Regions from separate parts of the Homo sapiens genome. Here regions 1, 2 and 3 are each linked to region 4. Evidence: promoter capture Hi-C in 16 types of primary human blood cells and fetal thymus (Javierre and others, 2016). All regions are on one chromosome and are shown on one strand. Each heading gives the region's core, a stretch centred on a gene start or on the middle of the fragment in contact. The rest is flanking DNA. Distances are from core to core; before and after follow the strand shown. Region 1 overlaps TTC39B (tetratricopeptide repeat domain 39B). Region 2 overlaps TTC39B (tetratricopeptide repeat domain 39B). Region 3 has its middle 190 kb from the start of TTC39B. Region 4 holds the start of CCDC171 (coiled-coil domain containing 171).

Region 1 (2,763 bases), core at 164-2,663, 300 kb before region 4:
GTGTCTATAAATTCATAAAACCAGCATTAAAAAAAAAAAGAACCATGCAATGAAGGCATCCTCTCCTTCCTTTTCCCTGTTTTGATGGAGTAGGTCTCAGAACTGGGAAATGACCAGGGATAATTTTATTTCTTAGATATTTGTTAGATTTTTTTTAATGTGTTCTTTTTTTAAATCTTTAAAAAGTGTTTTTATAGTTTAAGGTAGCCATTGTGAGACTGTATGAAACAGCTATATGAAAATGTCTTACATCATGAAAGAAATAATGCTTTTACAAAAACAGCAGTGCTCTTCAATATATTATATGTATATACTATGTTACGTTTGCTTTACGCTTTGCAGTTTTACAAAATGCTTTCAAATAAATTATTTTGTAGGTTAAATACATATTACCAAATAATTTTTACTTCTATGGGATTGTCTGAAAAGGTATCCTTATACAAGTTTAGTAACTAAGTTCTGCTGAAAATACAGGACCCATCTACTGTACCGAGACAAAGAGAATGTATCGTTTAAAATACACTTTTTAAATACCAATCACAGGCTTAATTTTCTTACAGTGATTACATAAAATTATTTTAATCAAAGCAAACTACACATTATGGGTATAACTTCTTTCAAATTAAGCTGAAATTTTTAAATGGCAAAGAATCCCTTAAGCCAATGGGAGATCTGACACACATAACTTTATACACACACACACACACACACACACACACACACAAACACACACACTTTTTTTTTTTTTTTGCTGCATAAAAGTCAAGTTACGCTTGCAGAAAACTTTCCTAACTACTAAAATAAATAAAAATCAAAAGCTTATAGCTGTATTGCCTACAGGGGAGACCAAATACTATGCCCACACCTTTGAAAAGGTTAATTCATCAGAGCTATATGGAGTTTTAACATTTTTCATTCTAACTATAACATTCTGCTCATCAGGTAATTTTAAAAGACCGCTGCTGGTATGAATATTTTCATTCTAGACAATAAAAATAAAATAAATAACATAGAAATTACTTTATACAATAATAAAAGTTATATGTAAATCCCCAAATATCTCTTCAGTTTTAGGCAATTTCAGGGTTCTTCCAATTTGTTGATGGCTATTAAGTCTTCAGACTATTTATTAGATGTGCATCATGCATGGTACTGAACTATACACTATTCAAAAATGTACCTAAACCAAATATCACTATGCCTTTGAGGAGTTCTATTCTCTGGTCGTAGAATAATGTTCCACAAGCAGAGACAAAAGGGGGAAAGAGGGAAGAAGGAAAAAGAAAGGAGACCAGAGAGGCTGATGATTTTCGGAACACAAGCAATGAAGAAGTTTGGCGCATTTCAAAAGACAAAGCTCCCAAGTATATGCTTTTGGGTGTTTTATTAGTCATCTTAGGTTCCTATTTTTATCGTGAGGTAGATGAAAAGGGAATGGATGAAGGCGTCAGAAAAAAAAAAAGGATGTCAGGTGAAACAGGGTAAAAAGTTAACAAAAGGCAATGAGCTCACTGTATCCTTTAAGATTCTGACACTCATTTATGCAAACGTCAAGTGAAAACTGAGTCAGCCCTTCAGAGAAAAATGGCAATGGAGACACCAACAATTATGGATAGTGTTTACTATGCCCAAACATTTGGACTTTATTTAATTATATATGCATTTGAGTTTATGAACACAATCAGCCACAGTCTTTTTTTTTAACTGTGTATTCCAAAAGATCCCTTAACTAACCATTTGAATAATCACAGCAATTATCACTGTGCCCTATACTCATTAGGAACTCAATGGTGGCTACATTTTTTTCTTTAATTTACTGCAAATCCTAGCAGTCTACTCTGAGGATCCACCTATATTTTCTTAATAGTACATGCTATGGTTTAATGTTTGTGTCCCTCCAAAATTCATATGTTGAAACCTAACCCCCAAAGTGATGGCGTGGGGCCTTTGGAAGGTGATTAGGTCATGAGGGTTCCACCCTTGTAAATGGGATTAGTACCCTAACAAAAAAGCTTGAGGGAGTCTCTTTGCCCTTTTTCCTTCTTCTTTTTTTTTTCTTTCCCCTCTTTCCACTATTTTCTGCTTCCTTCTACCACGTGAGGACACAAAGAAGGCACCATCTATGAGGAATGGGCCCTCACCAGACACTCAATCTGCTGCCACTTTACTCTTGGACCTTGCGGCCTACAAAGCAGTGAGGAAATAAATTTCCATTGTTTATAAATTACCCAGTCTAATGGATTTTGTTACGGCAGCCCAAATGGACTAAGACAGTATATTAATTTCACACATTCATTTTTTCAACACATATATACTGAGCACCTACTATGTGACAAGCATGGTGCATAGGTGCCAAGTACACCATGACAAGCAAAGTAGATCAGACCCATCGTTATAGAACTTGGAGCTCAAAAAAACAGATGATCAAAAAACAAGTAACAATTAACTGCAAAATGAGAAATGGAGTGATAGAAACAAACAAGATGCCAAGACAGAGAAATGGGGGAAGACTAACTGTTTTGGTGGAGTCACTGAGAAAGTGGGAGGACACGCCAGCTGAGAGTGGAGGATGGCCAGCAAAAAGCCCTCAAAAGAGTGAGGGCAAACACGCTCCAATCCGGAGCAGCACAGGGTTTACTCTCACAAAAAACTGTATAAGGCTTGTGGCTGGAGGGTCATGCATGAGGGCAAGAGTTGCCCTCGATGAGGCAGAAGCAGTATGTGGGAGCCCAACCACCTCAAACCTTATGAACAAAGGTAGAT
Region 2 (2,923 bases), core at 215-2,714, 270 kb before region 4:
ATGGGAATAATACCACTTAATTTACAGCATTGTGAGATTTTAACCAATATTATATATTTAATGCACTTAGCACAGTATCAACAAAACAGACACTTAATAAATCATCTCTACTGTTATTAAAGTGCTTCTGCAGTTGAAAGTCTCTGGTGTAGACCAGGGATGAGCAAAAAGAAACCTCCTGCATGATCTTGCTCCACCCTTGAACTATCCAGCTGTAACAGAAAATTGGCAGAGTTAGCAGTCCTTTACTTGTAGCTCTGCTCCAAAATAAATGTCTCAAAAAGAGAACACAGAACCTTATCCACTCAATATGAGTGTTCGGAAGAGGCAGTTCCCAAAGAGTAAGGCTTCAAAGATGATCTCAAACTGAGAAATCCTATAATGGGGGAGAGAGAAGGTAAAGGGACTTGAGCTCACAAGCTTAGAACCACTCTATCTGGGTTCAAATCCCAGTTTCACCACCCACTGGCTCTGTGACCTTGAGCAAGCTATTTTCCTTAGGACCTCAATTTCCCATGTCACTCAGCTGTCCATAGATTAATGTCAGATGTGAAAAGCACTTAGAACAATGCATCCAGTAGAAAGATGAGTTATTATCACTATTATTGTTGTGCCTTGAATCTCCTAAAGGTACTCGTGAGTGGCACTGTGTGCTGCAGCCTGGGAAAGGTTAGGAAGTGGACCACACACAATGCTTGGCACTAAGAATCCTAAGTCACCTTCTCTGTGGCTGACATGTCCTGATGTCCCCAAATAGATCAGTCTATTACTATTGGTGTCAGGAAACTACAAACAGGGCCAAATTCCACCTGCTGCCTTTTCTTTTTTTGTAAATAAAGTACTTTTTTTCTTTTCTTTTTTTTTTTTTTTTTTTTTGAGACGGAGTCTCACTCTGTCACCCAGGCTGGGGTGCAGTGGCATGATCTTGGCTCAGTGCAACCTCCACCCCCCGGGTTCAAGCGATTCTCCTGCCTCAGCCTCCCAAGTAGCTGGGACTACAAGTACATGCCACCAAACCCGGCTAATTTTTTTGTATTTTTAGTAGAGACAGGGTTTTGCCATGTTGGCCTGGCTGATCTTGAACTCCTGGCCTCAAGTAATCGGCCCACCTTGGCCTCCCAAAGTGCTGGGATTACAGGTGTGAGCCACCGTGCCCGGCCTGTAAATAAAGTGCTATTGAAACACAGCCACAACTCAATCAATTGACATATTGTCTAAGGCTGCTTTCCTGTAACAGTCACAAACTGCATAGCTGCAACTGAGATCACAGAGTCCTCAAAGCCAAAAATATTTACGCTGTCCCTTTACAGAAAAAGTTTGCCTACGTTTGCGCAATGAATGAAACATCAGGTTTCCTTCCCTACCGCATTGGATGCTTTGAGGATAGAGTGAGAAACAAATGTTAAAAATCTATAAAGTTCAAAGGGTTGGCAAATACGAGAAATTATTTAGCCCAAAAAACTCACTGCCTTCAAGATTTAAATTCAAGGGAGAAATAACACTAAGAACAAAGACTGCAGAGTCCCGCTATCAGCTCCATCACTTACCAACTATGTGTGGCCCGAACAGTGATGATGATACCCCGCTTTTGCTTAGCTGAGACCACCAAGCAGCCTCCTGGCCCTTGGTATGGTTGCTGCAGCTAGCTGGCGGAAAAGGGGCCAGCAGGGGAGTTTGCTAGAAGAGGGTCAGGAGAGGCAGTGGGTATCCCTAAAAGTTAATATATTGAGAACTTAGCTTGAGTCTGGTCCTTCCCAATTCCAAAAGTAGGAGGAGTAAAGAATGCGAATGCTTGCAGTGGGGTTTAGTAGAATGCCTCTCTCAGGGCTCCCCCTACCATTCTAGAGAGTCGAGGCACCAGCCATTCTTGCCAGTCTCATCACAGTGCTTCCCAAAGAGGCTGTTTTGTGTGTTGAAAAGATGAAAACAATGCAATTATCCCAAACAGTATTGAGAAGAATAATTTATTTCTTTTTTCTTTCTTTTTTGTCTTTTTTTTTGTTTAAATCATCAGTCCCTATTCTGGAAGAGGTACATCCCAGCATCTAGCCCAGATGTCCTTTTATGCAATAGTTATTTTAACAAACTTTCTTTATTTCCTTCCTTTTCTCTTTCTAAACTAAAAGGAAAAAAAATCTAAAAACAACAACAACAACAACAAAAACCCACTGTGTGTGGTCTTGGGCAAGGTACTTCTCTAAGATTCTTATTCATCACCTGTAAAATGGGAATAACAGTGCCATCAAACTCATGGGGTTGAAGAATTAAATGAGATGTACGTAGGCTTTAACATGATGCCTATTCACAGTAAGTACGAAATAATGTCAGCTCCCATTAAATTATTACTTTCATTATGATTACTGCAGGGAAAAGTTGTGTGTCCAAATACTGGACCACTCATACAGTGCCCTCCCTCTCTTGGTATCTATCCTTATAGGTAATTTTGGTATTAGCAAAGCAGAGATGCTGAGAAGTTAAATCTGTCCTTTTGGGGCAATCTAAGGGAGAAAAGCTTAAGACTTCTACATATTAATTTCTGCTAAGACTAAATTATCCTCCACTCCTACCAACATCCCCCCTGCAACAGCAAAAAAAAAAAAAAAAAAAAAAAAATGGCAAAAAGCTAAATGCCTCTTCTGCATTTTTTTTTTCTTTTTGAGACAGGGTCTCACTCTGTCACTCACGCTGGAGTGCAGTGGCACAATCTAGGCTCACTGCAATCTCCGCCCCCAGGTTCAAGCAATTCTCCCACTTCAGCTTCCCTGAGTAGCAGGGACTACAGGCACATGCCATGTAGTCCGGCTAATTTTTGTATTTTTTGGTAGAGGTGGGGTTTCACTATGTTGGTCAGGCTGGTCTCAAACTCCTGACCTCAAGTGATCCACCCACCTCAGCCTCCCAAAGTGTTGAGATTACAGGCATG
Region 3 (3,120 bases), core at 369-2,868, 430 kb before region 4:
AAGGAGGGAGATATCTCTATTTGACCACGGAAGGGATTTACGGCAAGGAGAACTGGGAATTTTGGAGAATGAAAGAGGGTCTGGAAAGAAGAAAGGCAAGAGATAGGTGGACGCCAAACACAAACATGCCTGTATGCTGAGGGTCTGCGCTCTCATTTAGCAGGTATGTCTGAAACATGTTCAATCCTTCTGTTACAACAGCCAGCAGAAGAGGTCTCCTCACGCTGAGGGAATCATTGATGGTGGTCTTTGACAGCACTAGCAGCGTCTCTGGGACTTCACCAGCTGAACACAATAAGCTTCACAAGCCTGCTCCTCTTGAAGAGAAAATAGTTTTTAAGTGGATTTTATTTCAAGGCAGGCTGGCAATTCAACAGACACAGGCAGGCAAAAATGTTACAGAGCCAACAGCAAGTTTTGTTTTAATTCACATTATGCAAAACAAATGAATTTGAGGTACTTAAAAAAATGTTCTCTTCACCTCATTCTCATTGAGAAAGTAAAAATTGTTCTCCCTCTTTCTGCTAAGAACCATAATTATTATAAAACCACAGGAGGAGCTCTGCGACACTGTAAAATGTTTTCATAGTTAAACGATTGTATCTTTCTTTGTTTTTTGTGGACAGTCATATCTGGGAGATGTCCCTCTGTCTGTGAAGAAAACTCCAGTCTCTTCAGCCTGGAATCCAATCTATGCCCACCTTACCTAGCTGATCCCAAGAAATACTTCTCTACCATAGGTCTCCCTCCTTCCTATTCCTCACTCTCATTCAACCCATTCCCACAACTCCAGCTTTATCCAAAACCTTCTCCTCACCTGGTGTTTCCAACCTCTCTTGCTCAGGCACAGTTGAAGTTCTAGTTCCCTCTCAAAAGCTTTTAATCTGACCAAACCATCACATCCTTCTCTTCTCCAAAATCCTACAACACAGAGCTTGACCCCACAGCTTAGTCCTTAAATATGCTTTCTCATATGATCTAAAAATTGTTTCTACTTATATCTTATTTCACTAATATGATTTGCAACTTCCCTGAAGCAAAGGACTGTGACTCATGCATCTTTTATACCCAGAACGGTACTAAGCACCTGGTAAACATGTGGTGCCTACTATCTTAATTTGCCTTGAACTTTTAGATCTAATGTGGGAACTGTCATTTCAGCTACTTGTATGCTTACCAAATGGGATTTTATAATTTCACAAATATATATGGAAAGATTTGGATGACACTATGGTATAGTGGCATCTTTTCATCATAGACGATTTGACATGGCTCCCTTTAAATAAATTACCATTGCCACTTTGACAAGTTCATTTGTTGGAAACATAAAGGACTCTATTAATATATGGGCTGACCTATATGTATATCTTAGCATTTTCCAATGAGTGAACACTGAGTTTTCCTTTTTGTTCTTCATGTCAATATCCACTAATGTACTTCTAGCATTCTAGTCAATGTATACCAAAAAGAAAGAAGACAGAGAATAAACATTTTGTAATTTATCACTAGTCCAATTTAAGATGAGGTAGGAAAAAATGTATTATTTTAACAGTTGCACCATGCCCTCCTAGGGATGGAATAGGTTCTGAAAAACGCTTTGACGAGCACTTGCAGTATAAATTGAGACACTGAGCATCTGGCCATCAGAGAAACACTTGAAACTGCTCTGAGGACAAGGAAAGGAATTTCTTTGTTGTTTAAATGAGTCGAGGAGAGGAAAGAAAAGTAGGAAAAGAGAGCAGAACAAGCACAAGACCCTATGAAGAAACCCTTTCTCCCTTTTCCATCTGGAAAGAGCCATGGGACGACCCCAAATGGAAGGGCCTTAAAGGGTTTTGGAGAGCTTAATATAGACTTTTAATTTCTTATTCTATGTAAATGGAGACCTCTGTTCCTTGTGCCATCCAAATCTCCCACCAAACTCCTCAACACTTTCTCTGAAGTACTCAGTCTTTGTAAAACTCAATCTCTACATAACTCAGCACCTTCTCAACACAACCTCTACGCAACTCAAACTCTACTCAAGCCAACTTCTATGTAACTCATTCTCTACCCAAATCAATCCCTACTCAAATCAAATTCTTCTCTACTCAGTTAAAACCCTTCTCAATTCATACTTGAATCAGCTCCAACTCAACCTAATTCAAACTCTACTTAAGTAAACTAAACTCTACTCAACTGAGTTTCCTAAACTAAAATTCACTGTGCTTACAGATGCTTTGTGTGGGTGTAGTTTTTGGAAGAAATTGAAGAAGTCTGCATCTTACATCTACAGGCTGTGGTTTCAAGCCACTTTATCTTAAACTTTATCTAGACATCAGAACAAAGGCTCCCAGCTGATGTAAGTTACAGACATTGTTTAAAGCTTTGAATATGCGTATGTAGACTACATGAAAGTAGGAAAATTTTTTCTGGACTGAAGGTACTCAGCCCAGAATGCACGGGTTAGAGAGCAGAACTATGGCACTGAGCAAGTAGAAAAGGAAGCCATTATCAGGTAGCAGGTGTTAAACAAAAACCATAGGAAGTCATTGTTTTGAACTGAGCTCCTGGACTAACAAAACAAAACAAAATGGGGTCACACATGCTAAAGGCCCCATCATCAAACTGAAACTTTTTTTTTTTTTTTTTTTTTTGAGACAGAGTCTCACTCTGTTGCCCAGGCTGGCAGGCTGGAGTGAAGTGGTGCAATCTCAGCTCACTGCACCCTCCACCTCCTGGGTTCAAGCGATTCTCCTGCCTCAGCTGCCTGAGTAGCTGGGATTTCAGGCCCAACAGGGCAAAACAAAACAAAATGGAGTCACACATGCTAAATGTCCCATCATCAAATTGAAACTTTAAGGAAGCAGATAGATCCCTTAACAGACCAGTTTTTCCTGAAAACAGGAGATTCCAGTCTACCTGAGTCAGCATAATAAACATGTCCCATCAGGCCGGGTGCAGTGGCTCACGCCTGTAATCCCAGCACTTTGGGAGGCCGAGGCGGGTGGAGCACCCTGAGGTCAGGAGTTTGAGGCCAGCCTGGCCAACATGGCAAAACTGTGTCTCTACTAAAAATACAAAAATTAGCCAGGCGTGTTGGTGCACGCCTGTAATCCCAGCTACTCGGGAGGCTGAGAC
Region 4 (2,847 bases), core at 227-2,726:
ATGGCTTGAGTCCTGAAGGTCTAGGCTGCAGCGAGGCGTGATTGTGCCGCTGTACTCTAGCCTGGGCAACAGAGAACAACCCTGTTTCAAAAAAAAAAAAAAAAAAAAGAAAAAGAAAAAAATAAAATTTAAAAATATTTTTTAAAGCTTGTAACATAAAAGTTCTAATCTCATTAGTCAGTTGTAATTTTCCATTTCATTTCTAAACTTTAGAGTGGGCTATTTTTTCCCTTTATTTCCTCTGGAGCAATTGTCCTCTTTATGGCTCTAGTAAAAAGAATCAGGGACAGGCCTCCGTTTTAGATGTAAATGACTAAAATCAAACCAATTAAGGTTTCAGTGCTACAAGAATCAAGGAGGTTTTAATCTCAATTTGTGTTTGCATTTATGACCGTTGGCTCTCCCATGGGAGAGAGAAAAGACGGCCCCTACACCTGGTTTCAGGTTGATTACAATCAACAAGGACCCAGTTTAGTATAGAAGGCTCGTTTTGCATTAAACACCTTTTTGTGCAGAGGAGGTGGTGGTGGTGAAGATAAAAATCTTTGACCAAATCCTGTCAATTTGCATTGTTCTCTGGAAGAATAGGCTTTCAAAAGTTAAGGAACAAAAGAGGAGTTGGTTTTCCAGTCTCCCTTAGGCGGCAGCAGATTGTGAAGCAGCCACCGGGAGGAACCAAAGTATAAATTATCAATAAGAGGACGGTGTGTGTGTGTGTGTGTGTGTGTGTGTGTGTGTGTGTGTGTGTGTCAGAGAAAAGTGAGAGAAGCGAGGAAAGAGATAGGGAACACACATGCTAAGGCTCCGAGGCGTTTTCCACGATGTGCCTGGTTACGTAATGTTGATAATGAAACGCACTGCAAGCAGCATCAATGCATTCTTCCGACCCTGCTCACCACTCCCAGCTGGGATACAATGGGGACGGGAAGAGGGGACAGGATGCCCTGTGCAGGCAGAGAGCTGTCCAGACAGAGGTAAACCAGGCAGTTGGGCAGAACCCGAGCCCAGAGAATTTCTCCCCAGGCCCCGGGACCAGCCCACCGTTGCTGTGGCTCTAAAGATGGGCAGAAGAACCAGTTTCAAAAAGCAGGATCTGGGATCCGACCTCTTAGGTTTTTATTCAGCAGGCAGGGAAAAGGGGTTAGAAGCTGGAAATCTGCATTTCCACTCGGCTCTGGCGACTGAGACAGGAACGCGGACACCTCACGCTGAAAAGCCACAGCAGCGCGTGGGCAGGGCGCACCCCCGCGCGGGGACGCGGAGCTCCTGGAGCGAGAGCGCGTGCGGTCGCGAGCCCGCCGCTCCCCAGCAACGGCGCATGCGCCCGTTCGTCCCTCAGCGAAGGCGCGCTGCTTGGCGGGCGGGCTCTTCCAATCCGAGCCAGCGTTCTCGGAGTACGTATCCAGGAGCTGCAAGCTGAGGGCTGCGGGAGGCGGGAGGAAAAAGTGGGGCCGGGCCTGAGTTGGGCTGACCTGTGAAAGTCTGGGAAGGTCTGCGAGAGAAGCGGAGTGTTTTCAGCTCCGGAAGTGGCAGTTGTAAACTTCACCTCCCGGGGGCTCTTCCCCTTCTGTACCCCTTTGCTGTTTGTCCCCCTCCTCCCGGGTCCTGGAGTCCGTCGTGTTCCAACAGTTTTTGCTCTTATTCCCGTGGGCTGCCTGGGCCTCCTTTCACCCGTGAGACTTGGAGCGGCCCCTGGGGTCTTGGGTGTGCAGCACGGATCACGCGAGACCCCTGAGGTAACCGCACGGTGTGGGGGCTTCGAGGCGGACGACTTGGGAGGGAGGTGTTGAGAGGGTTGTAGGGGCCCCTGAGTGAGTTTGGGGCGGCCCTGGGGCTGTTGGCGTAGGCTTTGGGGCACGCCTCCAGCTCCCTGGGCTGGGTCTCCCCGCCCACCTGGAGGAAGATCTCCGTGGAGCATCCTAGCCAGAGATCGCTGAGGCTGTACCAGAGCGCCGGATGGGGACCAGAGGGGAGGCAGAGGACCGGGATTTGGAGCTTCTTAGGGTTACTGCTGCGGAGCGCTTTCGTTCCCGAGAATCAGTAAGCCCCTCGAGGATAGGGACCACGTCTTTCAGCCCGCTCTCCCCTTTTTAAATGCCGGCCACACACTAGACACTCTACAGATGTTTGATAAACGGGAATGAGTTGTGCTAGACTGTCACCTGCAGCTTCTACCTACCCTCCAGGACTCTGAGAGACTTAGAATCTGAGTCAGCTGTGCGTTTTCCCGAAGCTGTAAATTTTCTGCAGAAATGGAGCCGACTTTTTGAATTTTTTTATTCCATTATGATATTGATCCTAAGAAAATACATATTTCATGTATACATTTTAGGTAAATGAGATAAATACGTCTTTATTTTGTTTATTAGAGTTGGTGTCCAGCTCTTTTGAATACATGACATACCGATGTTTTATGGTTTTCATAATATTGGAGAAAAGAACATACGATTTTGTCACTTTTTTTTTTTTTTGAGATGGAGTCTTGCTCTGTCACCCAGGCTGGAGTGCAGTGGCGCGATCTCGGCTCACTGCAAGCTCCGCCTCCCGGGTTCACGCCATTCTCCTGTCTCAGCCTCCCCAGCAGCCGGGACAACCGGCGCACGCCGCCACGCCCGGCTAATTTTTTTGTATTTTTAGTGGAGACGGGGTTTCACTGTGTTAGCCAGGATGGTCTCGATCTCCTGACATCGTGATCCGCCCGCCTCGGCCTCCCAAAGTGCTGGGATTACAGGCGTGAGCCACTGCGCCCGGCATGTCACTTATTTTATTTAACTGTTAGTTCCTACTCTCAACAAAACAGTGGTAGAGCAGAAGATGAACATGGTTTTTCATAAAATGCAGAGGAAA

The links. The method cuts DNA at HindIII sites, captures the fragments that hold promoters and counts their contacts. A CHiCAGO score of 5 or more calls a contact.
Region 1: a fragment that was not itself captured here is called in contact with the fragment with the promoter of CCDC171 in region 4 in 6 of 17 cell types (non-activated CD4 T cells, total CD4 T cells, activated CD4 T cells and 3 more); the score reaches 7.6 in non-activated CD4 T cells.
Region 2: a contact is called between a fragment that was not itself captured here and the fragment with the promoter of CCDC171 in region 4, in 10 of 17 cell types (total CD8 T cells, total CD4 T cells, non-activated CD4 T cells and 7 more). The highest score is 13.2, in total CD8 T cells.
Region 3: a contact is called between a fragment that was not itself captured here and the fragment with the promoter of CCDC171 in region 4, in 1 of 17 cell types (fetal thymus). The highest score is 8.6, in fetal thymus.

Annotation. Positions count from the first base shown.
Region 1 is chr9:15,254,138-15,256,900 of GRCh38, forward strand. All of the region lies in intron 2 of TTC39B (tetratricopeptide repeat domain 39B), which reads right to left. Among named protein-coding and RNA genes, the nearest start is that of TTC39B, 52 kb to the right of the region's middle. The HindIII fragment of the contact is 1,194 bases long and covers 817-2,010 here.
Region 2 is chr9:15,279,038-15,281,960 of GRCh38, forward strand. All of the region lies in intron 1 of TTC39B (tetratricopeptide repeat domain 39B), which reads right to left. Among named protein-coding and RNA genes, the nearest start is that of TTC39B, 27 kb to the right of the region's middle. The HindIII fragment of the contact is 2,092 bases long and covers 419-2,510 here.
Region 3 is chr9:15,119,454-15,122,573 of GRCh38, forward strand. No RefSeq gene overlaps it. Among named protein-coding and RNA genes, the nearest start is that of TTC39B, 190 kb to the right of the region's middle. The HindIII fragment of the contact is 1,489 bases long and covers 875-2,363 here.
Region 4 is chr9:15,551,567-15,554,413 of GRCh38, forward strand. CCDC171 (coiled-coil domain containing 171) reads left to right here and starts at 1,477. Exons shown (of 26, transcript NM_173550.4): 1 at 1,477-1,736. RefSeq lists enhancers at 1,074-1,719, 1,615-1,784 and silencers at 1,175-1,234, 1,245-1,334. The HindIII fragment of the contact is 6,396 bases long and covers 146-2,847 here.